Regions from separate parts of the Homo sapiens genome. Here all the other regions are linked to region 1. The links are contacts of gene promoters, found by promoter capture Hi-C in blood cells and fetal thymus (Javierre and others, 2016). All regions are on one chromosome and are shown on one strand. The core of a region is centred on a gene start or on the middle of the fragment in contact, and the rest is flanking DNA. Distances in the headings are between cores, read along the strand shown.

Region 1 (3,744 bases), core at 600-3,099:
CCAGGCATGGTGTTACCAGTGGGACTGGTTACTGGATAAGCCCACTGACAACAGAAGCAGCACTCCCATGGTGGCCTGAGAATGGGCCCTAGCAGTGTTTGGTTTCTGAACTGGGCTCTCCCTCTTTGCAATTCTTTCTCTCCATCTTTTGCCATCATATTCAGAGTGCAGCCTGAGAACAAAGGTGAGATGGGACAAATTGGGAATAGTGTGAGAAGTGAGGTCATTTAATTAATTAATTAATTCATTCATTCCTCTGTTCAATAGTTATTGAGCACCTGCTATGTGTCACTATGCTGAATATTGGTAGTGTAAGGACTAGCAGACGTGGTCTTTGTCCTTAAGGAATTCACAGTCCAGTGCAGAAGGCAGACGGATGAAAAATTACAAGGTGTGAGTGATAGCTGCTAAGGCAGGGGAATGCAGAAGGGTTTTTTTTTCTTTTCTTTTTTTTTGAGATGGAATCCCGCTCTGTCACCCAGGCTGGAATGCAATGGCGTGATCTCGGCTCACTGCAACCTCTGCCTCCTGGGTTCAAGCGATTCTTGTGCCTCAGCCTCCTGAGTAGCTGGGACTACAGTTGCCCACCACTACGCCCAGCTAATTTTTGTATTTTTAGTAGAAACGGGGTTTCACCATGTTGGTCAGGCTGGTCTCGAACTCCTGACCTTGTGATCCGCCCTCCCTGGCCTCCCAAAGTGCTGGGATTACAGGTGTGAGCCACCGCATCTGGCTGTCAGTATCTAATTTCTTGAGAAACTATAAACTAGACAGAAGTGGTGTTTATCCTCCAATTTCTAACAACATGATTGTTACATGGTGAGCACTCAGTAGAGGGTCAACAAAGCCTGGATTCTACTCCTGGCTCTGTCTTTGAAGCTACCTGTCCTTGGACAGTCATTTCAGCTCTCCAGGCCTCAGTTACCTCACCTGTAAAGTATAACTGGTGATATTAGCTCTGCCTACCTCACTGGGACACTGTAAGGATTAATGGTCATGAGCGTGATTTTTAAATTGCAAAGACGTCTACAAAATAAATTACACAATCATAAGTTATATTCTTAAATATTTGTTGAATTTTAAAATAAAAGTTGTTCAGCACTTAGGTGAAATGCTGAACGACTTCACATAAGTGCTGCACGACCCTTTTCTTTAAAAAACAAAGAGAGAGACTTAAATAACCAGCAGGTATGCAACCTTCAGTTCACAAAGCGGGTCTAGCTTGACTTTTTCATCAGTCCAGAAAGATACTGCTGTTATCCCCATTTTATCAGTGAGAGCAGTGAGGTCCCAAAGAATGTGTGCAAGAACAGAAGCTCTTAGAAGCTCAGGAGGGCCCGGGCGCGGTGGCTCACGCCTGTAATCTCAGAGCTTTGGGAGGCCGAGGCGGGCGGATCACCTGAGGTCGGGAGGTCGGGAGTTCGAGACCAGCTGGGCAACATGGTGAAACCCTGTATCTACTAAAAATACAAAAATTAGCCGGGCGTGGTGGCGCATGCCTGTAATCCCAGCTACTTGGGAGGCTGAGGCAGGAGAATCGCTTGAACCCGGGAGGTGGAGGTTGCAGTGAGCTGAGATACGCGCCATTGCACCCAAGCCTGGGCAACAAGAGTGAAACTCCCTCTCAAAAAAAAAAAGCTCAGGCGTGGGCCACTTCCCAAGGTCTCTACATGTCAACAAGTTAGAAAGGACCAAGCCCCAGGCCTCTGGGGGCGCCTTTGCTCTGGAAACCCCGCCTCCCGGCACGGGAGGGGCCGGACGACGCTTCAATCCCGCCCCGTGACGCGTTAGGCCCTGCCCCCGGGCCATCTTCGTCTCGCGGGATCTCTCGGGAGGACGGACGGGGTCAGGTCCCATCATGGCGGCTGAAGAGGCGGATGTGGATATCGAAGGGGACGTGGTAGCGGCGGCGGGGGCACAGCCAGGGTGAGGCTTAGAGACCGGGTCTCTCTGGGGCGGAGAGGGGAGTGGATTGAAGGAGCGGGCCCTGGGAAAGCTGCAGGTCCGGCAAGGGAAAAGGGAACAGAAGACTGTCCCCTGGGCCAGGGTCTCTTGTTGGCCTGGGAGGCACCTCGCCCGCCGGCTTGTCCCAAGCCCAGCGGGCAGGGCGGTTACCTGGAGCTCAGGTACTCCTGGGTCGCTTTCACCTTTTGCCGGATGCTGTGAGGGCACCGATTTCGCCTACCACATTGCGTTTGATTTACATTTAGATTCCTTCTTCCGTTCCCTCCTTTTCAGGATCTCATCGACAGTAACTAGAACAAGAGCGGCTACGGACGAGACCTGAGGTCAGGGACTCTTGTTCTATGGCTTGCTAGCCGTGTGACCTTGGGCGAGTCGTTTCATCCCTTCTTCCACATGGGGATAGTTGTAAAACTTCCCGAGAAGCAGGTTGACTTAAATGGGCCAGGTTTTAGAGTTGGACAGTTCTGGGTTTTCCTTCTGCATTTGCTCGCCCTACCAGTTAATAGCAATGTGACCTTGGGCAAGACACTTAACTTGTCTGAGCCTCAGACTGCTCATATTTAAACTGGGAGTCATGATATGTAATTGGGAGGATCAAATGAAATGATTATGAGATATGCTTTAGCATACGGTAGGTGCCCTCTGAATGTATTCTTTACCATCCTGTTACCCTCGGGGACAGTACTGTGAGAATCCAGTAAGGGATCACATTTTTTAAAATACCTGTTCCAGCAGAACAAACAGCCCAGTGTGATTTGACACAGAACCTCCTTTGACTCCTTGCTTTCTGAATCAAAAATGAGTCTCCTTTTAGTCATGAAGAGTCCTAGACTAGCCAGGAATCAGAAAGCCTGAGTTCTAAAGTCAGCCAGCTATGTTGTTTATAATTATGTACAATTTCCTTAGAACTGTATTAGCTTGAACCATATGAAATTGCCAATATTTAGACCATTTTTGTTCTATAAAGCGGCAACTTCATGTAGTTCAGCCTAATATTAGGGCCTCTGTGAACAGGGGAGAAGTACTAACCCAGCGCTTGAGGCACTAAGATAGTGTGTTTAGAAGTGTATCATGAACTCTAAAGCCCTATAAAGACGTGAGGGGTGATTAAACTCATATGGTCATTGTCCCTCAAAGCTTTGCAGATGAGTAGGGAGCCCTTAATAACAATACTTGTTGACATTCATTTAGTGTTTAAATCTTGACCAAGTGCTTTTGCATGTTTGATTTAATTTACTTTTCGCAACAAGTTAATGAAATAGGTTGGCAGGGATACTTATCTGCAGTCTAGAAAGAAATGAGCTGGCCTTGGAAACACTGAAGATTGGTCACCTGAGGGCATTGGCTGTATGCTTCTTCCATAGATTTATCTTTCTGATTGTGTTTCATTTTTCCCCTTTTCTCTTTCTTCCTATTTTAGTTGAGGCCTAGGTCTACTGGTGGCACTTGTGGTAACAAGCAGGATTACAAAGGTTATTGGTTCCTGATGATGGTTACAATTATTGTCTTATACAACCCCAAGGAGTATCATTAATATTATATTCTGGGCCAGGCATGGTGGCTCACGCCTGTAATCCCAGCACTTTGGGAGACCGAGGCGGGCAGATCACGAGGTCAGGAGATCGAGACCATCCTGGCTAACACGGTGAAACCCCATCTCTACTAAAAATACAAAAAATTAGCTGGGCGTGGTGGTGGGCGCCTGTAGTCCCAGGTACTTGGGAGGCTGAGGCAGGAGAATGGCGTGAACCCGGGAGGCAGAGCTTGCAGTGAGCGGAG
Region 2 (3,744 bases), core at 547-3,046, 1.3 Mb before region 1:
TTTAGAAAAAAAAAAAAAAAGCATACGCATAGAGAATTGGCAACTGGTTGACCCCTGTGACACAAGGTTCATTGTGGCTATGTTAGGCATGCGTCCCTCAGGATTACTCAGCTTACTGGCTCATGGGAAGCCCTTCTGATGAAGCCTGCCCTCATGCTCCTCCCTAGCACAAAGGCAGCCCCCAGCACTTCATTAGATGCTTCTGTCATTCACTCTATCTGAAACACAGTCTCATTTGGGACCAGGGTGGGCCTGGTTAAGTGCATAGGTTTGGTGCTAGCCTTACAGTATTTAGTGAACTTTGTATTGGGTAGTCAACAATGAACAAAACAGACCCTACCCCTGATATTATGAAGAAGATAGTAGAGTGGTCAAAGCCATAGTTTCGATGACAGAGATGGGAAGTGGGGTAGGAGATTTGATTAAAAGCGCTGCTCAGAGGGCAATAGGGTCAAAAACAAGAATGTCAAAACTGATAGTTAAAAGCTGAGCCAAAGATATGGTATTACACCAAGGGCCAGAAGCTAGCTGGACATGGCATGTGGAAAGAGCAAGGTCGGGAGAGAAGACAGGAGGGTCCTTGGTGACTAATAAGGATGGGATTAAGACCCTCAGAGCTTACTTTCAGTCACCATACATTTCTTGGTGCACTGAGAGGTCAGAAGGGGTTTTCAGAAATAAGGTAGGCTCATTCCATGACCAGTCATTTAGTATTTGTTAATTACTACTATGTACTGGTCTTACACTATATGATCCAAGAGATAGATAAATAGGACCCAAGCCTAGTTACAGGGTTCTTAACAGGCTTACAGGGAAGATAAGGACCACATATATTGATTAAAATATTAAAACACTCAAGGTTCTGCTTCAGTTATCTGATTTTTTGCTTTATTATTTTTTTTAAATGTGAAGAACCTTAAGAGAAATGCTATGAAAGTTTAAGCTGTAGGACTATTTCAAGCTTAGAAAAACAGGGAAAGTGACATTTTTCTGGGCCTTGAAAGCCATGTGGGAATTGGACATAAAACCATGTAGTCTGGAGAAGGATCAGAGATAAATAAAAAGGAAGTTGTAAAGCAACAGAATGTAGAGGTAAAGAACATGAACACTGGTATTGAACTGATCAAGGTCAAACCTTGGCCCAGCTACTTAGCTGCTGAGTGACCTTGGGCAAGTAACTTAACCATTTCTATGTCAGTTTCCTTAGCTAGTGTGGAAATTGTTTTCAAAAGTGGCCACAATTCCTCCCATGCTCCTTACAAAGGTACGTTGCCATTCTTTCCTTCAAGAGGGGAATCTAGCTCCCCTCCCTTCCATTTGGGCTGGGTATTTGCTTTGAGGAATAGAATCTGGCAGAAGTGGTGCTATGCTGGTCCAGGCTCAGGCCTTAAGAAGCCTGGCAGCTTCTGCTTTCACCCTCTTGGAAGCCAGCCAACATGGAAAAGAATTCCAGCTAGACCACTGAACAGTCAGAGACCATGCGGACAGAAGGGACATGTGGAGGAGAATTGAGGTGCCCAGCAGACAGCCAGCATCAATGCCTCAGATGTCAAATGAGACCGTCTTGGACCTCCCCATCTTAGTTGAGCCACAGCAGGCAGTGCACACAGGACTGAGATGAACAGTCCAGCTGAGCTCTGCCCAAAGTCCTGGCCCATAGAATTGGGAGCAAAGAAATGGCTTTTGGTCAAGCCACTATGGTCGGGGGTGATTTAAATTACCCGCTTCATTGTAAACAGCCTAACTATCTCCTTTGTTCACTACCTCATTACTGCAAGAGATGGCAGAGTTTGGTTAGCAATGCAGAAAAATCTCCAAGTATTCCAGGTGTAAAGAACTTACCCATCCACTTGGAAAGCTGGGAAGCAAATGTCAGGGAGGCCAACACTGAAGATTCAGCCTGAGGATCTGAAATGGGCTCTAAAGAGCTTGCCATCAAGTCAATGAAATATGAAGAGCTCTGGGAAGCTCTTGATTGTGCTGTCCTGTTGCAGCAAAGCAAATGGTCTTGACAGCTCACAAAAGAACCTCTCTGAATTCTGTACCTGTACCTACTTAGGGCTGCAACTGACTGGAGAAGAGCAGTGTCTCCTTCCGTCATACCTACCAAATATCCTGTTTCTCCTACTCATTGGTAAGCTCTAACCCAAACTGTATGGGAAGGAGATTCTCGGAAATGGAGTCCATGGCTTCTTAGAGTCTTTAGCTGGAGTGCTAATAATACCGAGTTGACAATGGACCATTCAGCTCAAAGTGCAATTCATTAGTTGTTAGAGAGTCTTGACCTGTTCAGGTCTTTGAATTGGACTATGCTTCTTCCCCATTCCCAAAAGTTTTCACCAGGTCAGATGATACAGAACAACAACAGGAGGAAAAAGAAAAGAGCATCCAAAAATGCCAACAGAATATTCCCCTCCTTCTTCCTTGAAAGTAGTAAGGCAAACAATAGCAGAAGTCCTGGGGTGGTACTGAGAGGGTGGAGCAGAATACTCCAGGTGACTGGAGCCATTAAAAAAAAAAATCCCTGGCAAGAAGACTTCTGTAAAGGAAGGGAAAAATAAATATCTGCTGAGAGCTACTTCCACTCAATAAAATCTTGCACTTGTTCTAAAAAAAAAAAAAAAAAGCTTCCAGTCACAGATCAAGATATCCCACTAGAGAAATTAGGACCTGCTCCCTCTAGTGATTGGGGGTTACCGGGGTTTACTCATGATGGAATTGTTTGAGACTTTATGGAATTAGCCTGCAGACTTTATGGAAGATATTGGTGTTCACTTATTTACTCCACAAACATTTTTTGAACTCCATGAACTTGGAAAGTTGTCAAGGATATACAGTTTCTTCCCTCAAATCTAACAGTAAATTGATACAAATAAGTCAAAAATATACAATACACTAAAAAATAAGTATATTTAGTCAAAGGGAACATAAGGATTTTATCCAAATACCACATGAGGAAGCAGTCAATTCTAGGAGTCAGGGGTGGGATTTGGAAAAACTCAAAGACAAATAGCTTTTATATCCATACTTTTGAAAAATGACTAGAAATCCATAGCAGACAAAGAGGATCAAGGACATTCCATGCACACGCAAAAACATAGAAATAGGAAATTATGTGGTGCTCTATGGACCCATAAGTTGTGCAATAGGTCTGAGATCAAGTATGTCAGTAATATAGGCAACAACAGAGACAGGGTAGAAGGAGGAGTTGGATCAGCCTGTAAAGACTTCTGAATGCCATCAGGAGAGTTTGAATTCTGTTCTTTTTCTTTCATTTTTTTTTTCAGAGATGTGGTCTCACTATGTTGCCCAAGCTGCAGTGCAGTGACCATTCACAGGCACAATCATGGCACACTACAGCCTCTAACTGCTAGGCTCAAGCCATCCTCCTTCCTCAGCCTCCTGAGTAGCTGGGACTACAGGTGTGAGTCACTTCACCCAGCTTGGATTTTCTTCTTTAAGTCAGTATTTTCCAAAATGGGTTTGCATTTGCACCAAGGGTTGCACTACATTCTCCATCAGGATGCTGAAAAAAAATTTTGATAATGATAATATTGCTACAGCAGTCCTTTAAATGAAATACCCAAATAAACTGAAGGTAGAACAACACAGGGTTTAACTGAGGTTTTCAAAAATAATCAAATGCATCCAATTGCATTGCTGTCATCAAAAATATGATTATTAGTGCAATAAGGTAGTGTATACTGTTAATATTAGGTTGGTGCAAAAGTAATTGTGGTTTTT
Region 3 (3,744 bases), core at 537-3,036, 1.2 Mb before region 1:
CTGGCAGTTTTTCCATCTCAGGGAGATACTGTAGCCTTCATTTGAGAGCTAGGGAAAGTGTTCTTGGATTTAACTGTCTAGAATGGGGTTTCTGTCACGTTGATCTGGGGACTAGGAGAAAGAGTGAGTTATGGCTCAAATGCCACAGACTCTTACTGTGTTTACTAGCATTTAGTAGATTCTTCTTAAATAAAATTTATTTATTTACTGTATGCCTTTAGAACAATTTTCAGGGACTTAAATTATTTTAGTTTTATAAATAATTTTTAGCAATCACAATTTTTTACTAGGAAGAGGTTCTGTGGGGTTTCTCATGCTGCCATTATGGAAGTCATTCCCCTGCATCATTCTTTAATGCAAAAAATAAAAAGGAAGGAGAGATATAACAAACCTGACGTCCACTGATACGGGAATGAGCAAATAAATTGTGGCATAGTAATAGAATACTATCCATCTATTAAATTAAGTGAATTAGAGCCACATATATCAGTCAGGATAAATCTCAAACACATAATACTGAGTTGTAGAATAATTCGTGTAAAAATATCATATATAAATATTAGAAATATTGTATGGATGCATAACAGCTGTAGTAAAACAGGAAAATGTGGACTAGAAGGATAAAAGCTAAGCTCTGACTAGTATTTCTCTCTGGACCTTAGAAAGAGAACAAGAGACTTCAACTCTCATTTCATTTCTTGCTCACACCTGTAATCCTAGCACTTTAGGTGGCTGAGGTGGGCAGATCACCTATGGTCAGGAGATTGAGACCAGCCTGACCAACACGGCGAAACCCCATCTGTACCAAAAATACAAAAATTAGCCGGGCATGGTGGCATGTGCCTGTAGTCCCAGCTACATGGGAGGCTGAAGCAGAAGAATCGCTTGAACCCGGGAGGTGGAGGTTGCAGTGAGCTGAACTCCAGCCTGGGCGACAGAGCAAGACTCTGTCTCAAAAATAAAGAAATAAAATAAAATATTGTAAGCAGAATATGTGACTCTATGTTGAGTACATGAGTGTGTACTATACTATTCCTGAGCTATGTTTCATGTTTTCAGTCTCACCATTTGTGAAACCCAAGCAGGCACTCACCAGATGGTATGAAAGGCTGGAACCTGGAGGTCCCACAGTCTTGGGGCTTTGGAGAGGAGCCTAATAGAGCAAACCAGCAAGGATCGGAACTAAGACATTCCTTCAACAAATGTTAATTAAGCACTTATTATGGCTGCTGCTCAGTGCTAGCAGCTTTGGTGTAGTGCCTTTTAATCTTCCAGACACTTTCAAATACAGGACCTCGTTTAGATGTGTTTCAGAAGGGTGGATTTATTTGTTCACCACATACTTAGTACTTAACTTTTCTGTTTCCTCAACAGCAAGATGAGACTACCGAGAGCTTCTCCTTCATAATTTTGTCAAAATGAAATAATAATCTATGTAAAGAGGCGGATGTGCTGCCTGGCATATAGTAAGAGCCCAAGAAATGTTAGGTACTGCTGTTGTTATCGCTGTTTACCAGGCACAGTTCCAATCATAGGAGAGACGGTGATTGAACCGAACAGAGGCTCAAATGTCTGTGGCGCTCTCAGTAAACCCATGAGCTTTCTAAATAGAAAAGAAACTGCTCCTAGCCTGGCCTTTTCTGAGACCGGTGCGTGTCCTCCCGGGAATCCAGCGCCTGGCATCTTCGCAGGGTGCTGCGAAGGGGCGGGCTGGGAGGCGGGGCACGGCTGGGAGCGAGGCGGGGCGGGGACCGTCGCCTGCTGGGACCGCCGCCTGCTTGGACCGCAGAAGAGCAGGAGGACGTCTGAGCCATGCTCGCGGCGATGGGCTCTCTGGCGGCTGCCCTCTGGGCAGTGGTCCATCCTCGGACTCTCCTACTGGGCACTGTCGCCTTTCTGCTCGCTGCTGACTTTCTCAAAAGACGGCGCCCAAAGAACTACCCGCCGGGGCCCTGGCGCCTGCCCTTCCTTGGCAACTTCTTCCTTGTGGACTTCGAGCAGTCGCACCTGGAGGTTCAGCTGGTAGGAGTGGGAGAAGGTGCCTAGCGTGTCCTGACCCTAACTCTGTTCTGCAGCACAAGGGACGTTCCGGCAACGTGGGTGGGGTGGGGGATGAAGGGCAGGAAGAGGTGTGGCTAACGCTGGTAACCTGGTAAAACCCACTTTGAGTTTCATTTCCTAACCCATTAACTGGCATGATTCCACCTGCACTTTCTAGGGATGGAATATTATTAAATGTTTACTATTTGCATGTTGTCATGTTAAACATTACTGGAACACCTTACTTGTAATGTGATTACCTTGCCCTCTTTTATATGATTGTCCTTAAAAATGCTATACTTTCTTTCTGAGAAACTTCATTTCCCATACATAAAATGGTGATAATACTACCTCAATCTTGATCATTTCTCAACTGAGTTATTCCCACTACACTAACTGAGCCCTCCAGCTTCAACCTCCTTCCCTTGCAGTGCACTCTCACTAAGTAATAATTTTAAAATGTTCTTCCTCTGCTTAAATTTTTGCCAAACGGTGTTCAGACTCCTGACTGAACCACCTGGGACCCTTCTTGATGCAGCTTCTTTCCGTCTCTATACAATAATCTCCTATCAGGGCTCCCCGACTCTGGTGACCAAGTTCTTTCAAGTTCTCTCAGACATCAAACCCTATCTCAAGAAACCAATACTGGTTTTCCTGCCACTCAGCACAGGTAACTTGCTGAGAGACAACAGTGTGACAAGTGATTATGAAGATTAGATAAAATAGTGAATGGTCAATACTGACATATAGTTGGTACATAACAAATAGTAGTTCCCCTTTCCCTGCACATGCCTGCAGTACTTTAAACACATGGCTGTATATTGCCCTCAAATATTGATAGACAAAGTTTTATCACTTTATGGGAGAAATACCCAATTGGTAATACTAAGTGACAGAATTAGCCACAGAATGTTAAAACTAAGCCCCCAAACCTGTGTCCTTATTTAATTAATATGTTGTTTAATTTCCAAGTATGTGGAGATTTTCTTGTTATCATTTCTGTTAATTATTTCCAGTTTGACTCCATTGTGGTCAAACATCATACTATGTACAATTTCAGTTCTTTTAAATATGTTAAGGTTGATTAAATGACACAAGATATAGTCTATCTTGATAAATGTGCCATGGAGGCTGGAAAAAATATGTATTTGACTATTGTTGGGTGGAATAATTGATATAAATTATTGTTGGGTGAAGTAATTGATATCAATATCAATTTGATTTTACTGGGTAATGATATTGTTTGGTTTGCCTATATCCTTGTTGACTTGTTATCTACTTATTCTATCAATTACTGAAAGAAGAATGTTGAAGTTTCAAAGGACAGTTGAGAGTATCTATTTCTCCATTCAGTTCTAGTAGTTTTTCCTTCATGTATTTAGAAACTCTGTTGTTTTGCACATACACATTTAAGATTATCATGTCTTCTTAGTGAATTGATCCTTTTATCCTGTAATGTCCCTCTTAATTCTTCATAATTTTATTTGCCTAAACTGTACTTTATCTGATATAATATAGCCACAACTTTTTTTCTGATTAGTATGTGCATGGTATATGCATTTCTATTCTTTAACTTTTAACCTTCTTGTATTATTATACTTGAAATTAGTTTCTTGAAGGCAGCATATACTTGGGTCTTTTTTTTCATTCTGGCAATCTCTGTCTTTTAATTGGTGAATGTAGACTATTTATATTTAATGTAAT
Region 4 (3,744 bases), core at 854-3,353, 1.2 Mb before region 1:
GACTCCGTCTCAAAAAAAAAAAAAAGAAAGAGAAGAAAACAAATACAAAAACTATCCAAGCATGGTGGTGCATGTCTCTAATTGCAGCTATTCAGGAGGCCGAGGCATGAGAATCACTTGAACTGGGAAGGTGGAAGCTACAATGAGCAAAGATCACGCCACTGTACTCCAGCCTGGGCGACAGAGGGAGACCCTGTCTCAAAAAGAATAAAAAGAATAAGTAGCCTGGTTAACCAAGAATGCTGAAATTAATGGATTATCCATATATTTTATAAATATAACTGAAATGAATCACCTGACTTCTTTCACAGAGAGAAGCTTATAGTGATGAAAGACTACTAACAAAAATATTAAACTATTTCTAGGTAATTCTAATTACTTTAGCTACAATAATATTTTCCATTTCTGTGAATCAAGATTTTATGGCTCGGTAATAAAATCACCAAGATTTTCAGTTACTAAGGAGCATATCACCTCTGCTCAGTTTCCAGTTCATTCATTTTACGGTGTTTCTGTTCTAGCTGCTCCTGAAGTTCCTCAATACGTTCATTCTCAGAGCCTTCTTGCTGTAAGCGAAGCATCTTATTTTCATGTTGCAGTCGAATAAACACCTCCCTGATGTTACAAAGCAAAATCTTTTTTAATTTTTAAAAATATGAGTCATTATATTCTTTAGTTAAAAAAAGGAAATTCCTGTCCACTCAATAGCTACCATTTTAAGATGCAAGCAGGACCAGCTAGCATAGCTGGTAGGGTATGAAACTCTTAAACTCCAACAAAAGCTTCTGAAAGTGTTTAAGAAAAAATTATGTAAACTGCAAGACTGTGCCTTTAAAAAAAAGCAGTCAAATTTTATAGGTACCATATAAGATTATGCTATAAATCATTAAATTGTTATTATGCCATTCCTGAAGAGATAATAGAAATTATATTACTTTGGTAATTTAGAAACTATTCGCTAAAGGAAACAAATAGTATATGCTTAGAAAACACATAAAAGAAAAGCAATAGATTTAAGAAACTATAGTTTGAGCAAAATTTTAATATATACCTTATAATGGCAATAAGAAAGTTTCTAGATCTTTTGTTTCTGAAAAAAATTTTATTAAAGATTTACATGTACTTTTAAAAAATGCAACTTTTTATTAATATTATTGATGTTAATATTATTTGTATTAAATAGGGAGGTAATACTCTCCCTTAGTTGTTCCCCTGCCAAATCCCATTCTTCAAAAGCAACTAATTTCAAGTAATCTCAATTTTTGTTCTTCTGAATGCCAATAGTATAACTCTTAAAAAAAAAGCTCATATGGCTATTTTTTAAATTACTAATTTTAAGTTAATGATTGACTCCCCACTAAGCAAGATAAGTAACTTTTCTCCCTTTATACATTTACCACTTCTCCCATCAAAGGCTTGTGAAATCATATTGATTTTTGTTTTCTAATAATTTCCTAACTTTAAAGTATATACTTAAATCTCCCTAGTTAAAGCAATTATAACATAGCACATGGGGGTCATGTCATATTATAAAAACTAAAATATGTTATTCAACGGGTTTGTGAAATTTTACTTCTGATAAAATTTTAAATTGTTGTGGTAGCAATAATAATATGATTTAGAAAGTTTAAGTAGATCAAACAGTAATTTTCAGCTCTATGAGTCATAAAATAAGTTTTTAAAGGCCAAGACATTTACAAAAAACAAAAAAATTATAATATTAAATATAATTCTATCAAATTATGAAACAAATTTACCTATATTCCACTGGCATAATCTCAGCAGCAAGATTCTCATAACTTTTTGTAGCAGATGCATCTAAAAAATAACAAAAAATAAATTAGCATTTCAGTATTTCAACTATTTTAAAAAACCCTCCCTCCTTCCCCCCCTCCCTCTCTTTGTTTTTCTTTCTTTCGATAGGGTCTCTCTCTGTCCAAAAACCCAATTCCCCGCTCCCCTCCCCTCCCCTCCCTCCTCCTCTCCTTTCCTTTCCTTCCTTTCCCTCCCTCCCGTGCTCCTTCCTTCCTTCCTTCCTTCCCTCCTTCTTTCTTTCCTTTCTCTCTTTCTCTCTTTTTCTCTTTCACACCAAGCCTGGAGTGCAGTGGTACAATCATAGCTCACTGCAACTTCAAACTCCTAGGCTCAAGTGATCCTCCCGCCTCAGCCTCCCAGAGCTAGGACTATAGGCATGCGCCACCATGACAGGTTAAGTTTTTATTTTTTGTTGAATGGAGTCCCACTATGCTGCCCAGGCTGAAACTTTTCTAAATCTAACAAAATTAACCTGTTTGGTTTAGGTGGTCCTGTTGTACTTGTGAACATCGAAGCTCTTCATTTGTTTCTTTCAAAGTATCACGCTGCTCAATTAGTCTCTGAAAAGAATTGTTGATATCAGCAAAGTATTTAATTCTGCCTATAAACAATGTACTTTATGCTTACAATTTATCTTAACTAGTTTAATAATTGTTGCTTAATTTTAAGTGACAATGTTTTAGTTTTAAGAAGCTCATTTTCTATTCAGTTACATAAATAGTATGTGTCTTTATACATGGTTTTGACTTTCCCATCAGATAGCTTATCTTTGAACAAAATGAATGCAATTATGTAACAGAGGACAGATATGCAACGGGTAATAAAAAAGCATGGACTTTGGAGGCATAAAGACCATGGTTTGAATACCAATTTCACCACTTCCTAGCTATATTGTCTTAGGCAACTTATATAACTCTTTGGCTTTAGTATCCATAACTTCAAAATAGGAATACTGATACATAAACCCTTGCAAAGGTGTTCTGAATAACAAAGGTGGTATTAGTCAAGGATCTAGAATATAGGTTGGTGTGTAAGAGACGCTGGAGACTAGTTACTTTTTACCACTGTTGTGAAACTCAACTGGAAGAAGTGGTAAGTAGTATCCTGGAGATACACATTGGCGGAAAAACACCATTTCCCAAGGACAGCAAGCTGGTACTTCATATCACTGACTATTTTATTTTACAGCCTACACCAATGACAAACTTCTAGGTTACGAACAGAACGTTCATGTTTAAATCATTTTCCCAGAACTTGAAAAGTACTACTGAATATAAAATCATGTGTTAAATGCTGTTATGTTCCAAGTCAATAAACAAAGCCCTAATTAGTCCATTACGTGTTTCAAATCAATTTAGCAGTAAACTGGTAACTGATTCAAGGGGTCCGTAGGTGCCTTAAGGATCTCTGAACCCTAAAGTTGGAAATCTAGCAGGAGCAGGCACAAAGACCTCTGTAAATCTGTTCCTCCATTAACGTAATGCACACACTAGCACATTTGTCATTATCAACTATTTCAGAATTCTGGGAATAAACCAAAGGCCTACAACAGTCTGGTGAGCATTTATTAAAGTAAACCTGCTAAACCTTGGTTAGAACAGTAAGCTTTTTGCTCTTTTAACTTTTCTAACTATGATTCCCGTCTCCCCAGCTCTGCAGTAACCTTGAAAACAAGCAGCCTTTCAATTGCTGTAGCTGTGAAAACCAGCAGCTCTAGCAGCCACCAGAATGGGCACAGACTGGATGGATATGGGGCTCCCTTAAAAAGCCCCATCCACAGAGAATTGTCACTGTTTAACCTGTCTTGCAGCTTCCTAAATCCCATTTGTAGGGACTCTTCATGATTTGACCTGAGTCACTGCTTGCTCTGCAGGAAATATTTCCGAGACATTTGGCAAATAGAATCATCAGCAACTGTTTGCCACCACA
Region 5 (3,744 bases), core at 469-2,968, 1.1 Mb before region 1:
ATTGCACAAAATCAAATATATTAAAGATGAAGGTAATTCTACTTGAAAATCAATTCGGAGAGTATCAATACCTAAGCAATGTTATCTTACAAATCAATATATCCAAGCTTATTTTCACAAATGAGCATTCTATAAAAATGACAATAAAACATGTTCTAATTATGACTTACATTCCAGTAAAATATTATAAACAAAAAACCAAGTGATTTTTCAGTCTTAAAGTAATTTTCGTATAGCATGATGCATTTAAACAAAGTCAGATGGTTTTCATACCTCATGATAATAACTCATAATTCCTTGAAGGACCTTCTTTACATTACTGGCCTAATGTGAAAAAAATAAGAGATTCTTATTTCAGATTAATAATGAAAGAAAAGTTATGTCAGCATGAAAGACAATAAAAACTTTCCCCTAATTAAAAAGAACAACAAAAACATTATAATAGAGTTCTATAAATACAAACACATGATGCTTTTTAACCATCAGAGATTTAATCAGTGTTTAGTTAAGTAGGGTGATTCTATTTAAAGTGGGTCACAATGAACTCAAGGGCCCACTGTAAAAATTTATACACAGGCATGTCCAGCTGCAGTCATGAGCAAGTTAACTGGGTTTTGATTTTCTCTCCTGTCACTAATAACTAGAAAATAAGACAAAATACATTAAACAATTGTTTGCAAGCTTTAGACAAGTAAGTAGTACAGAACTCTGCTTTCTGAAAGAATGAAAACAAACAGAAAATGGGCCCTACACTAGTACAAGCTTTCTGTCTTGAGGCAATTTTCAGACTACAGCATAGGGAGGTGGAAACCAAACACCAAGCCTGATGTTCTCACCGATTGAAGAGATAAGACATTAGAAGTTCAGGAAGGCCTGGGCAGTTTGAATTTGCAAGGCAGACGATGAAAAGATGGGAGCTATGGAATGAGCAAGCTCTGGAGATTTGTGTAAAATGGTTCCTTTGACTCTTTGGCTAAATACCAGTTTGCATGTGGATGGGTGAAACTGAATGTTCTTTCCAAAGAAATAACAATCCAGGGAACTATAAACTGAACCATTCCCAAAGATTATACAGGCCAAAAAATTTTTGAAATTCTCACTAGCCAGAATGAAGACACCATGCTACACGCACAAAACATTCACTAAAGACCCCCAAAAAGGTCACAGCTTAGTAATGAGTCTACTTTAGTCCTAAAGGAAAGAATAACTTTAGTTCTGCCCCCCACAATAGCCAAAAATAGGCCTTTAAAGGATCAAACTGATTCCAAGTACCTTAACTGCTTGCAAGAAGAAAATTCAACACTCCTCAAAAGAATATACTTAATTGGGAGGCTGAGGCAGTTGGATCACCTGAGGTCAGGAGTTCAAGACCAGCCTGGCCAACATGGCGAAACCCCGCCTCTACTCAAAATACAAAAATTAGCCAGGCATGGTGGTGGGCACCTGTAATCCCAGCTACTCGGGAGGCTGAGGCAGAAGAATCGCTTGAACCTCGGGGGCAGAGGTTGCAGTGAGCTGAGATTGCACCACTTCACTCCAGGCTGGGCGTAAGAGCGAAATTCTGTCTCAGGAAAAAAAAAAAAAAACTTAAAAAAAAAAATCAGCATTCAATAATAAAATTCATAATGTTTAGCATCCAATTAAAAAATTACTACAGATGTGAAGAAGCAGGAAAGTGGGAACCAAAATTAGGAGAAAACTCAGTCAATACACATGGGTTCAGAAATGAAAGATAAAAGAATTGAGACAATGTTAAAACTTCTAGTTTAAAGATGTTCAAGGATTTGAACAAAAACATGAATGTAAGAAATAGAAGGTTTTTTACAATAAAGAATCAAATACAGATTGTCAAACTGGATAAAAATGTAAGACCCAACTATTAGGTGTCTACATGAAACACTTTCAATAAAAAGACATAGGCAGATTAAAAGAATGGAAAAAGAAATACTAATGAAAAATATAATCATAAAAAATCTGTAGTGGCTACATTAATATTAGAGCTAATTTGATTTCAAATAAAAGAATATTACCAGGGATAAAGAAAAGCATTTCATAATAAGTGAATTCATTCAAGAACACACAAGAAATATAGTGTGTAATAAACTTAATAACAGAAATTCAAAATACATGAAGTAAAAAGCAAAAAAATGCAAAGGAGAAATCAACAAAATCGAAATCATCATTAGAGATTTAAGGGCTCTCTACAGAGTCTATACTACACTATACACATAGTATAATAAGAAAAAATATCAATAAAGATATGGAAAATACCACTATCAACAAATTTAACAAAATCTATATTTATATAACAACTGTAGAATGCATGCTGTTTTCATATGCACATGGAACATTCACCAAGACAGACCATAGGTTCGGTCATAAAATAAGACTCAATAAATGTAAAATAACTTCTCAATACAGAGTATTGTCTCAGATCTATTAGAAACCAATAAATAAAAGAAAGGCAACTGGAAAATCCTCAAATATTTTGAATTTGAATTACCTACTTCTAATTTACTCATAGGTCAAAGGAGAAAACTTTATAAGGGAAATTACCAAATATTTTGAACTGAATGAAAATAAAGTAACAGTCTGTCAAAATATGTGGGATGTGGCTAAGATGGTGGTTAATATTAGGGGAAAAAAGGGTTTAGAGTTGATTATTTAAGCTTCCACCTTAAGAAGCAAGAAAAAGAAGAACAGGTTAAGTGAGAGAAAGGAAATAATAAAAATCAGAAAAATCAATGGAATAGAAAACATACACTAATTCTTTAAAAAATAAATAAGTAAAATTGAAAAACATCTAGCCAGACTTATCAAGGAAAATAAATTCAAAAGACACAAATAACCAATAGCAGGAAAAGAAAAGGAAACATCATTAAAGATCAGTTATTAGCACATTATTAGCACAGTAATTCAGTTAAGGACTGTGTATCAACAAATCATACATCCTGTATGAAACAAATGTCCTACAAGACACAACAAAACTGACTTAAAAATAGAAAATCAGTTTGGCAGTTTCTTATAAGGTTAAGCACATACTTATACAACTTAGCAATTCCACCCAGAAATTCACCCAAGAGAAATTAAATATGCATCTATCCAAAGATTCATATATGAATGTTTGTAGCTGTTGTATTCACAATAGTCAAAAATGTTAAAAATTCAAACATCCATCAACAAGTGAATAGCTAAACAAACCACAAAATATCAGTCTAATGAAATACTGCTTAGCAAAAAAAGAAATAACTACTAATGCAGGCAACATGAATGAGACTGAAAAATTACACTGAGTGAATGAAGTTAGACAAAAAGAGTACATATTATATGATTCAATTTATACAGAGTTCCAGAAATGAACTCCATAGTAACATAAAACAGATCTATAGCTACCTAGGGCAAGGCTGGGGGTAGGGATTAATAGAGAATGGGCCTGAAGTGCATATTTTTGGTTAATAGGAATATTTTCTATTTAATTATGATGGTAGTTACATGAGAGAATACATGTGTTAAAACTCAAACTATACACAACAAAAAGTACTATAAGTTAATTTGAAAAACAGATTTGGTTAACTTAGTGCTAACTTTAGGACCACTGTTTGGATCAAGTGCTTCTCCCATTTGTTCTGCATACCTTTATTCTCCAGTTGTCCCCAACATCCTCTTTAATTCGGCTTAACCAAGATTCGTTAAACCAAGCTGCATCACTGAAACAACAACAAAAAAAATACTAAAGATGAAAAT
Region 6 (3,744 bases), core at 576-3,075, 1.1 Mb before region 1:
AAAAAGAAAAAATTGTTACAATAGACAAATCAGGATATTACATAATAATAAAGGGTCAATCCATCAAGAACATATATCAATTATAAACCTATAAACAGAGCCCCAAATATATGAAGCAAAGATGGGCAATTAAAGACAGAAGTAGGCAGTTCAACAATAAGAGTAGGACAGTTGCATATTCCACTTTCAATAATGAATAAGTCAACTAGGCAGATCATCAACAAGGACATAGAGGACTTGAATAACACTACAAGCCAACTATACCTAAGAGACATGTACAGGACACTCCATTCAACAACTGCAGAATACACATTCTTCTCAAGCGCATACGGATAATTCTCCAAGATGAACCATATGTTAAACTTCTAAACAAATCTCAATAAATTTTAAAATATTGAAATCATAACAAGTGTCTTTGGAATGAAATTAGAAATCTATAACAGAAGGGAAACTGGAAAATTCACAAATATGCGGAAATTAAACAACATACTCTTAAATAACCAATGGGCCAAAGAAGAAATCACAAGGGGATTTAGAAAATAGAGATGTATGAACATGAAAACACAACATACCAAAATCTATGAGATACAATGAAAGCAGTGCTCAGAGGGAAATTTATACTTTTAAATGCCTACGTTAAAAAAAAATCTTATATAAATAACCTAACCTTCCTAAGTGACTAGCAAAAAAAAAAAAAAAAAAAAAAAAAGGCAGACTAAGCCCACAGCAAACAGAAGGGCTGAAATAATAAAGATTTGAGCAGAGGTAAATGAAACAAAACATAGAAAAACAATAAAGAGAATTAATGAAACTAAACTTTGTTCTTTGAAAAGATCAACAAAATTGCCAAACTTTTACCTCAACTGATGAAGACAAAAAGAAGATTCAAATAAAAAATGAAAGTGGTAATATTACTATTAGCCTTATGACAATAAAAAGAATTATATAGAGTGCTATAAACATTTCTATGTGAAAAAAAATCATATAACCTAAACAAAATGAACAACTTCCTAGAAACACACAAACTACACACACAAACTATCAAAATTGACTCAAGATGAAATCTGAATAGACTTAAAACAAGTAAGGATATTGAATCAGTAATCAAAAATTCTAACAGAAAAAAGCTCATGACTGGGTGGCTTCACTGGCAAAGTCTACCAAATATTTTATGAAGCAGAGTAATTCTTTTCAAACTTCCAAAAAGTAGAAGGGGAGGAAATACTTCCCAACTCATTCTATGAGGCCAGCATTACCCTGATACCAAAGCCAGACAAAGATATGACAAGGAGAGAAAACTGCATGCCAATATCCCTTATGAATATAGATGCAAAAATTTTCAACACAATACTAGCAAACAAAATTCAACACTAGATTAAAAGGATTATACCTTATGACTAATTTTTTCCAGGGATGCAAGGGTGGTTCAACATATGAAAAGAAGTCAAATCAACATATTACAACATTTATGAAAGAAAGAGTAAAACCCCACACATTCATCTTAACTGATGACAAAAAGCATTTGACAAAATTCAACAGTCTTTCATGATGGGAACACTCAGTAAAGTAGAAATAGAAGGCAGCATTCTCAACATGATAAAGGCCATCTGGAAAATTCCATAGCTAACATCAAACTCTATGTAAAAGACCAAAAGCTTTCCCTGTAATATCAGGCACAAGACAAGAATTTTCATTCTTGCCACTTCCATTCAACATTATACTGAACGTTCTAGCCAGGTCAACAAGGTAAGAAAAAGAAATAAAAGGCATCTATATTAGAAAGGCAGAGGTAAAACTATTTCTAGTCACAGATGACATGATTTTATATCAAACAAAAAACTACTAAAGCTATGCATTACTCTGTTTTGCATTGCTATAAAGGAATTCCTGAGACTGGGTAATTTATAAAGAGTTTTCTTTGGCTCGCAGTTCTGCAGATTGTACAATCATGACACCAGGATCTGCTTGGCTTCTGGTGAAGCCTCAGGAAGCTTATACTCACGGCAGAAGGAAGGGGGAGCAGGCATGTGACACTGTGAGAGAGGGAACAAGAGAGAAGCCACCAAGAGGCCCCAGGCTCTTCTAAACAACCAGCTTTTATATGAACTAACAGAGTGAGAACTCATTACTGTGAGGAGAGCACCAAGCCATTCTTGAGGGATCTGTTCCCATGACCCAAACACCTCTCTCTAGGCCAACCTTCAACAATAGAGTTCATACTTCAACATGAGATTTGGAGGGGCCACACATCCAGACTATAGCAAGCTAATAGAGGAATTTAGCCAAGTTGCAGAATATAATATCAAAACTCCATGTATTTCTACAATGGATATCTGTATTGTATATAAAACCCCATTGTATTTATATATACGAGTAATGAACAATCTGAAAAAGAAACCATAAAACAATTTCATTTAAAATAACATCAGGCCCAGTGTGGTGGCTCACACCTGTAATCTCAGCACTTTGGGAGGCTGAGGCAGGCGGGTCACTTGAGGTCAGGAGTTCAAAACCAGCCTGGTCAACATGGCAAAACCCTGTCTCTACTAAAAATACAAAATTGGCTGAGTGTGATGGTGCATGCCTGTAGTCCCAGCTACTCAGGAGGCCGAGGCAGGAGAATCACTTGAACCTGGGAGGCAGAGGTTGCAGTGAGCTGTGATCATGCCACTGCACTCCAGCCTGGGTGACAGAGTGAGACTCTGTCTCAAAAACAAACAAATGAAACAAAAACAAACAGAAAAATAAAAATAAAGTAACATCAAAACGGTAAAATATTTAAGAATATATTTAACCAGGGAATTGTAACACTTGTGCACTGAACACTATAAAATTTTGCTGAAAGAGATTAAGGAGAACCTTAATAAGTAGAAAGAGATTTCATGTTCATGGATTGGAAGATATAATATTAAGATGACAATACTCCCCAAATTGATCTACAGATTCAGTGCAAGCTCTATCAAAATTTCAACTTCTTTTTTGAACAAATAGAGAAGCTGATTCTAAAATTCATATGGAATTGCAAGAGATGCAGGACATCCAAAATCCTGAAAAAGAAAGCAAAAAGAACTTAAACCCATACTTCAAAACTTACTACAAAGTTACAAAAATCAAAACAGTGTACTATTGGAATAAAGGTAGATATATAGGTCACTGGAGTATAATTGAGAGTCCAGAAAGAAATCAATATATCTATGGATAATTTATTTCTAATAAAGATGTCAAGACCATTCAATGGGGGAAAGAATTGTCTTTTCAAAAAATGATGCTTGGACAAACGAATGTCTACACGGCAAAGAATGGATTTGGATCTTTACCTCATAACACATACATAAATTAATTCAAAACAGATTTAAAAATTCAAATGTAAAAGCTAAAACTATACAACTCTTGAAAGGAAACATAGGTGTAACTCTTCTTGACCTTAGATTAAGCAATAGTTTCTTAGCTAAGGTATCAAGAGCACAAGCAACAAAAGAAAAAATAGATAACATAAACTTCATTAAAATTAAAAACAAAAAAATTAATTGAAATCGTCATAATTATACATACTTAGTGGGTACAGAGTGACATTTCAATACATGCATACAATGTGTATTGATCAATCAGGGTAATTAGCATATCCATCATCTCAAACATCCATCATTTCTTTGTGTTGGGAACATTCAGCATCCTCCTTTTAGCTATCTGAAATGTTATAATATATTACTGTTGACTGTAGTCATCCCACAGGTGTATAAAACA
Region 7 (3,744 bases), core at 376-2,875, 1.1 Mb before region 1:
AGATATTCTTTAAGCAAACCGGTCACCTTCTATTCTGTTGTGTGAAATTCAGGTGCATTGGTCTGTGAGCCTTGCTTAAGCTGACAGCCTGGCGCTTTCTGTTTCTCCCCAAGTTGAGTATATGAGACTCTGACATTGACACAGATATGGCTATTTCAGCTTCAGAAACATTCTATTCTTTGACATATTTTAGAATTAAAATTAAGAAAATGTTCAAGATTCTGACCCCTTTCAATCTAGTATCTTCCTTGATTTTGTTCTTTTCCATGTTCTTTCCACTGTTCCAATTGTTTCAAAGATGAACAACAAACATTTGATGATGTTTTTACATTTTAAAGTTTGCTCCTTTATCACCTCATTATATTTCCATTATCATTCTGTGTAGTGCTATCAAGACTCACATTTTCCCAATGAAAATATTAATGTTCTGACATTCAGAACCAGACATGCTCCAGGAGGACTGGCAGACCCAATGGTGCCATGCTCATTGGTGTTCACCATTTATTATAGATTCAAAAATATCTGTGGACAACCCATTCCTGATATTGTGAGAAATACAAAGATATACAGAACACTTCAGTAAATGTCCTCTATGCTCCAGGAGTAATTTGAAGGCACCATACTTCTTACTTCCAAGGCCCTCCCAGGTGCTATTTTCTCTGCTTAGAAGACTTGTGGGGCACAGTGGCTCATGCCTGTAACCTCACTGCTTTGGGAGGCTGAGGCAGGATTATTGCTTGAGCCCAGGAGTTCAAGACCAGCCTGGGCAACATAGTGAGACCCTGTCTGTACAAAAAAATTTAAAGATTAGCCAGGTGTGGTGGCCTGTGCCTGTGGTCCCAGCTACTTGGGAGGCGGAAGCAGGAGGATTGCATGAACCTGAGAGATCAAGGCTGCAGTGAGCTGTAACTGCACTATTGCACTCCAGCCTGGGTGACAGAGTGCGACACTGTCTCTAAAAATAAAAATAAAAAAAGACTCACTCTAACTTTTCTGAACTCTTCTTCACTTCTCTAAACTCCATGAAGTGAGTATCAGCTCTGCATTAACTACTGTATTCCCTGTCACTAGCAAAGTACATTGGTAAATGCTCATTTAGTATTTTTTGAATGATTGAACTCAGCCTATTATCTTGTTGCCTCTTGCTGCCCCTGTAGTAATTATATTTCATTGCTGCCTTTGTAATTATAGCACACATTTCTCTTGCACTTAGAGTCCATACTGTTGTTTCTGCTTGACTGTGAAACAAACTCTTCAAAAACAGAAGACACAGAAGATCTCAAGAGTGTTTCCCCATGACAATTTATATTAAAACTCTGTCTGGGCTCACTGTCAGTTCGAAATAAGAAGAATCAATAAGAGACAACACTGGGAACTAAACATAAAACCTGTTGGAATTCACTGGTTAAATAAAATTAGGTTGGGCATGGTGGCCCATGCTTATAATCCCAGTACTTTGGGAGGCCAAGGCAGGGGGATTGCTTGAGGCCAGCAGTTTGAAGCTGCTGTGAGCCATGATCATGCCATTGCACTCCAGCCAGGGCAACAGAGTGAGACCCTGTCTCAAAGAAAAAAAATTAACCAGTTTCTGGCTTTTCTAACTAGAAATAATAGAATTATATATTGTATCCTGTTTACAAGATTTTCAACTACATTGTTTAATTAGTTACATTCAGTATATAATATCTATGACAAAGTTAGAATAAAGTTATTACTTCTAAAATGAGCAAAATATAATCAAAAGCCTTAATGGGAAGAAATATCGTAACTGTATTATATATTCACGTTGTTATGTTGGTGTAAGATATGTACATTTTAAACCTAAGAAACAGTGACATAATCATCTTCATAATCTTCTATTCAAACATTTGCACATTTCTGGCATGAGCACAGTGCCGGGCATAGAGTGGGTGTTTGACAAATGTTTTTGAAATAAGTGAATACATATACTATTACCGATATTTGACAAGAACTTTATGGTGTGCAAAGCCATTGTTTCATTTGAACCTCATAACAACCCAGTGAGTTGGGTAGAGAAGTGATTACCACCAACTCTACCTTAAAATTGAAAAAAAGAGCGACCCAAAGGGATTAATTAATTTGTCCAAGTTCACACACAGCTAGTATGTGGTATGGCTGCATTTCAGATCCAAGTCTTGGGTATCTAAGTCTCAAGTCTATTCTGACTTCACTTCCAAACTTAAATTTATGTATGGTGAAAAAACTAAGAATTCCTTAACATTTTAAATGGCATTCAGTGTATTTCTAAAATATCAAAATAAAATTGCTCTAATTTTATTAAAATTAGAGAATCATATATCTACATAGAATAGACACTATTAAAACAAATTTAGCACCTGAAAGTAATTGAATAATTTGTCTTAGGACTAAAATGAGAGGAAAGCACAGAATATGTGAAGCAAAAGCAATCATCTTGTTAGTGAACTGTCAGCATCTCTTAGTACCAATGAGTGAATAATTATCACAAAAGGAAAGAAAAAATAAATCATTATCAAGCCTGCCTGTAATAGTGTTCCCCTGGGGATAATTATTTGTCTTTATTGCATTCTATTAGTACTACTTTACATATTATATAAAACCCTTCTATTTTTATTTTTATATTTGATCCATGCTTTTAAAAATCCATGCTTTTAATAAACAAATTGTTTCCTTAATGTGTTTTGAACTTAGTAGAACAACAGACCATTGTTTATTCATTTGGTTCTACAATCAATAAACATTTAATAACTTTACAGTAATTAGAGCTGTTCAGAAAAAACCAGAGCAACCTCAGGGGTTCCTTGTTACCAGAATCCTCATGCTGAGGCTGTTACTGGTGTTAAAGAGAAAAGTCCTTTATCAAGTGGCAGAAAATACTTCTTCTTTTTTTTTTTTTTTTTTTGCTAATTTTTAAAAATGGTAAAACTGTTCTAATTTCAAAAAATCTTCAATTAGCTTACAATAAAAGTACTGGCATAGTAAAATAATTCTAGCATACTATAAAGGCAACTAATCAATGAAGGGGAAGGCAAGAACTATTTTATCATGATTTCATAGCTGAGGAAAATACAATTGTGTGTATATTAAATGTAGTCATGAGCTCCTTGGCAGCTGAGGAATAGAGGGAAACACTGTTCTTAATATTTAGTAGATTCTGGAGTTCTGGGAGGCATCAGATATAGTTCCTAGAAAAGACTGAGTGAATGAACAAATAATGTAAATGACAGCAAATTTTATAATAAAAGTATACAAGTATTTTTCATATAAGTCATTTTATAGTTGTGGCCTGGTGAAATCTAAAGACCAGAAAGATAAGACTCTGGTGTGGACCAGAGTGAGGTGGCCAACTGTAAAGCTTCCTGCAGATGGGTGCCTGCAGGGAAAAGCTTATGGGTAGTGGGGTGGGGATTGAGGAGCTGAGGAAATTGAGGAGGTTTCTACTTTACATGATTCTACAACTCTATGTGAAGTAGAATGCAACTCCCTCCTCTTTTAAAAACCCTTCAGTGGCATTCCATTACACTATGACAACATCTGAACTCCTTATCATGGCCTTCAAGGTCTTATGTGATCCAGCCTTGGCCCCCTTGTGGTCACGTATCCCCTGGATCATTCCACTCTCACCACGATGGACTTCATCCAACTCTTCAAACATTTTGAGCACCTGCTATTTAGTGTTCTTTTAAATGATGGTTTTTCTACCTGTACTGCTGTCTCTCTGCCCTTTCACTTGGCTAATTCCTA

What was found. Contacts are between HindIII fragments. The CHiCAGO score rates a contact against its expected background, and 5 or more counts as called.
Region 2: a fragment that was not itself captured here is called in contact with the fragment with the promoter of MYSM1 in region 1 in 2 of 17 cell types (M0 macrophages and M2 macrophages); the score reaches 6.1 in M0 macrophages.
Region 3: a contact is called between the fragment with the promoter of CYP2J2 here and the fragment with the promoter of MYSM1 in region 1, in 3 of 17 cell types (M0 macrophages, total B cells and naive CD8 T cells). The highest score is 7.4, in M0 macrophages.
Region 4: a fragment that was not itself captured here is called in contact with the fragment with the promoter of MYSM1 in region 1 in 2 of 17 cell types (naive CD4 T cells and total CD4 T cells); the score reaches 5.8 in naive CD4 T cells.
Region 5: a contact is called between a fragment that was not itself captured here and the fragment with the promoter of MYSM1 in region 1, in 6 of 17 cell types (naive CD4 T cells, activated CD4 T cells, naive B cells and 3 more). The highest score is 9.2, in naive CD4 T cells.
Region 6: a contact is called between a fragment that was not itself captured here and the fragment with the promoter of MYSM1 in region 1, in 6 of 17 cell types (total CD4 T cells, naive B cells, naive CD8 T cells and 3 more). The highest score is 7.9, in total CD4 T cells.
Region 7: a fragment that was not itself captured here is called in contact with the fragment with the promoter of MYSM1 in region 1 in 12 of 17 cell types (naive CD8 T cells, naive CD4 T cells, M0 macrophages and 9 more); the score reaches 8.6 in naive CD8 T cells.

The regions. Positions count from the first base shown.
Region 1 is chr1:58,698,167-58,701,910 of GRCh38, reverse strand. It overlaps MYSM1 (Myb like, SWIRM and MPN domains 1), which reads left to right and starts at 1,849. Exons shown (of 20, transcript NM_001085487.3): 1 at 1,849-1,926. The coding sequence starts at 1,859. RefSeq lists enhancers at 1,675-2,084, 2,295-2,354. The HindIII fragment of the contact is 3,791 bases long and covers 1-3,104 here.
Region 2 is chr1:59,948,584-59,952,327 of GRCh38, reverse strand. It overlaps a transcript of CYP2J2 not described here. Among named protein-coding and RNA genes, the nearest start is that of CYP2J2, 24 kb to the right of the region's middle. The HindIII fragment of the contact is 1,666 bases long and covers 964-2,629 here.
Region 3 is chr1:59,924,815-59,928,558 of GRCh38, reverse strand. CYP2J2 (cytochrome P450 family 2 subfamily J member 2) reads left to right here and starts at 1,786. Exons shown (of 9, transcript NM_000775.4): 1 at 1,786-2,022. The coding sequence starts at 1,813. RefSeq lists an enhancer at 1,903-2,438. The HindIII fragment of the contact is 8,163 bases long and covers 1-3,744 here.
Region 4 is chr1:59,857,059-59,860,802 of GRCh38, reverse strand. HOOK1 (hook microtubule tethering protein 1) reads right to left here. Exons shown (of 22, transcript NM_015888.6): 13 at 2,288-2,375; 14 at 1,758-1,818; 15 at 475-615. Among named protein-coding and RNA genes, the nearest start is that of HOOK1, 44 kb to the right of the region's middle. The HindIII fragment of the contact is 2,638 bases long and covers 785-3,422 here.
Region 5 is chr1:59,828,743-59,832,486 of GRCh38, reverse strand. HOOK1 (hook microtubule tethering protein 1) reads right to left here. Exons shown (of 22, transcript NM_015888.6): 3 at 3,635-3,707; 4 at 274-324. Among named protein-coding and RNA genes, the nearest start is that of HOOK1, 16 kb to the right of the region's middle. The HindIII fragment of the contact is 1,907 bases long and covers 765-2,671 here.
Region 6 is chr1:59,796,537-59,800,280 of GRCh38, reverse strand. All of the region lies in intron 3 of LOC105378758 (a long non-coding RNA gene), which reads left to right. Among named protein-coding and RNA genes, the nearest start is that of HOOK1, 17 kb to the left of the region's middle. The HindIII fragment of the contact is 336 bases long and covers 1,658-1,993 here.
Region 7 is chr1:59,779,987-59,783,730 of GRCh38, reverse strand. The region is part of intron 4 of LOC105378758 (a long non-coding RNA gene); the gene reads left to right. The region is part of intron 2 of LOC101926944 (a long non-coding RNA gene); the gene reads right to left. Among named protein-coding and RNA genes, the nearest start is that of HOOK1, 33 kb to the left of the region's middle. The HindIII fragment of the contact is 3,465 bases long and covers 1-3,357 here.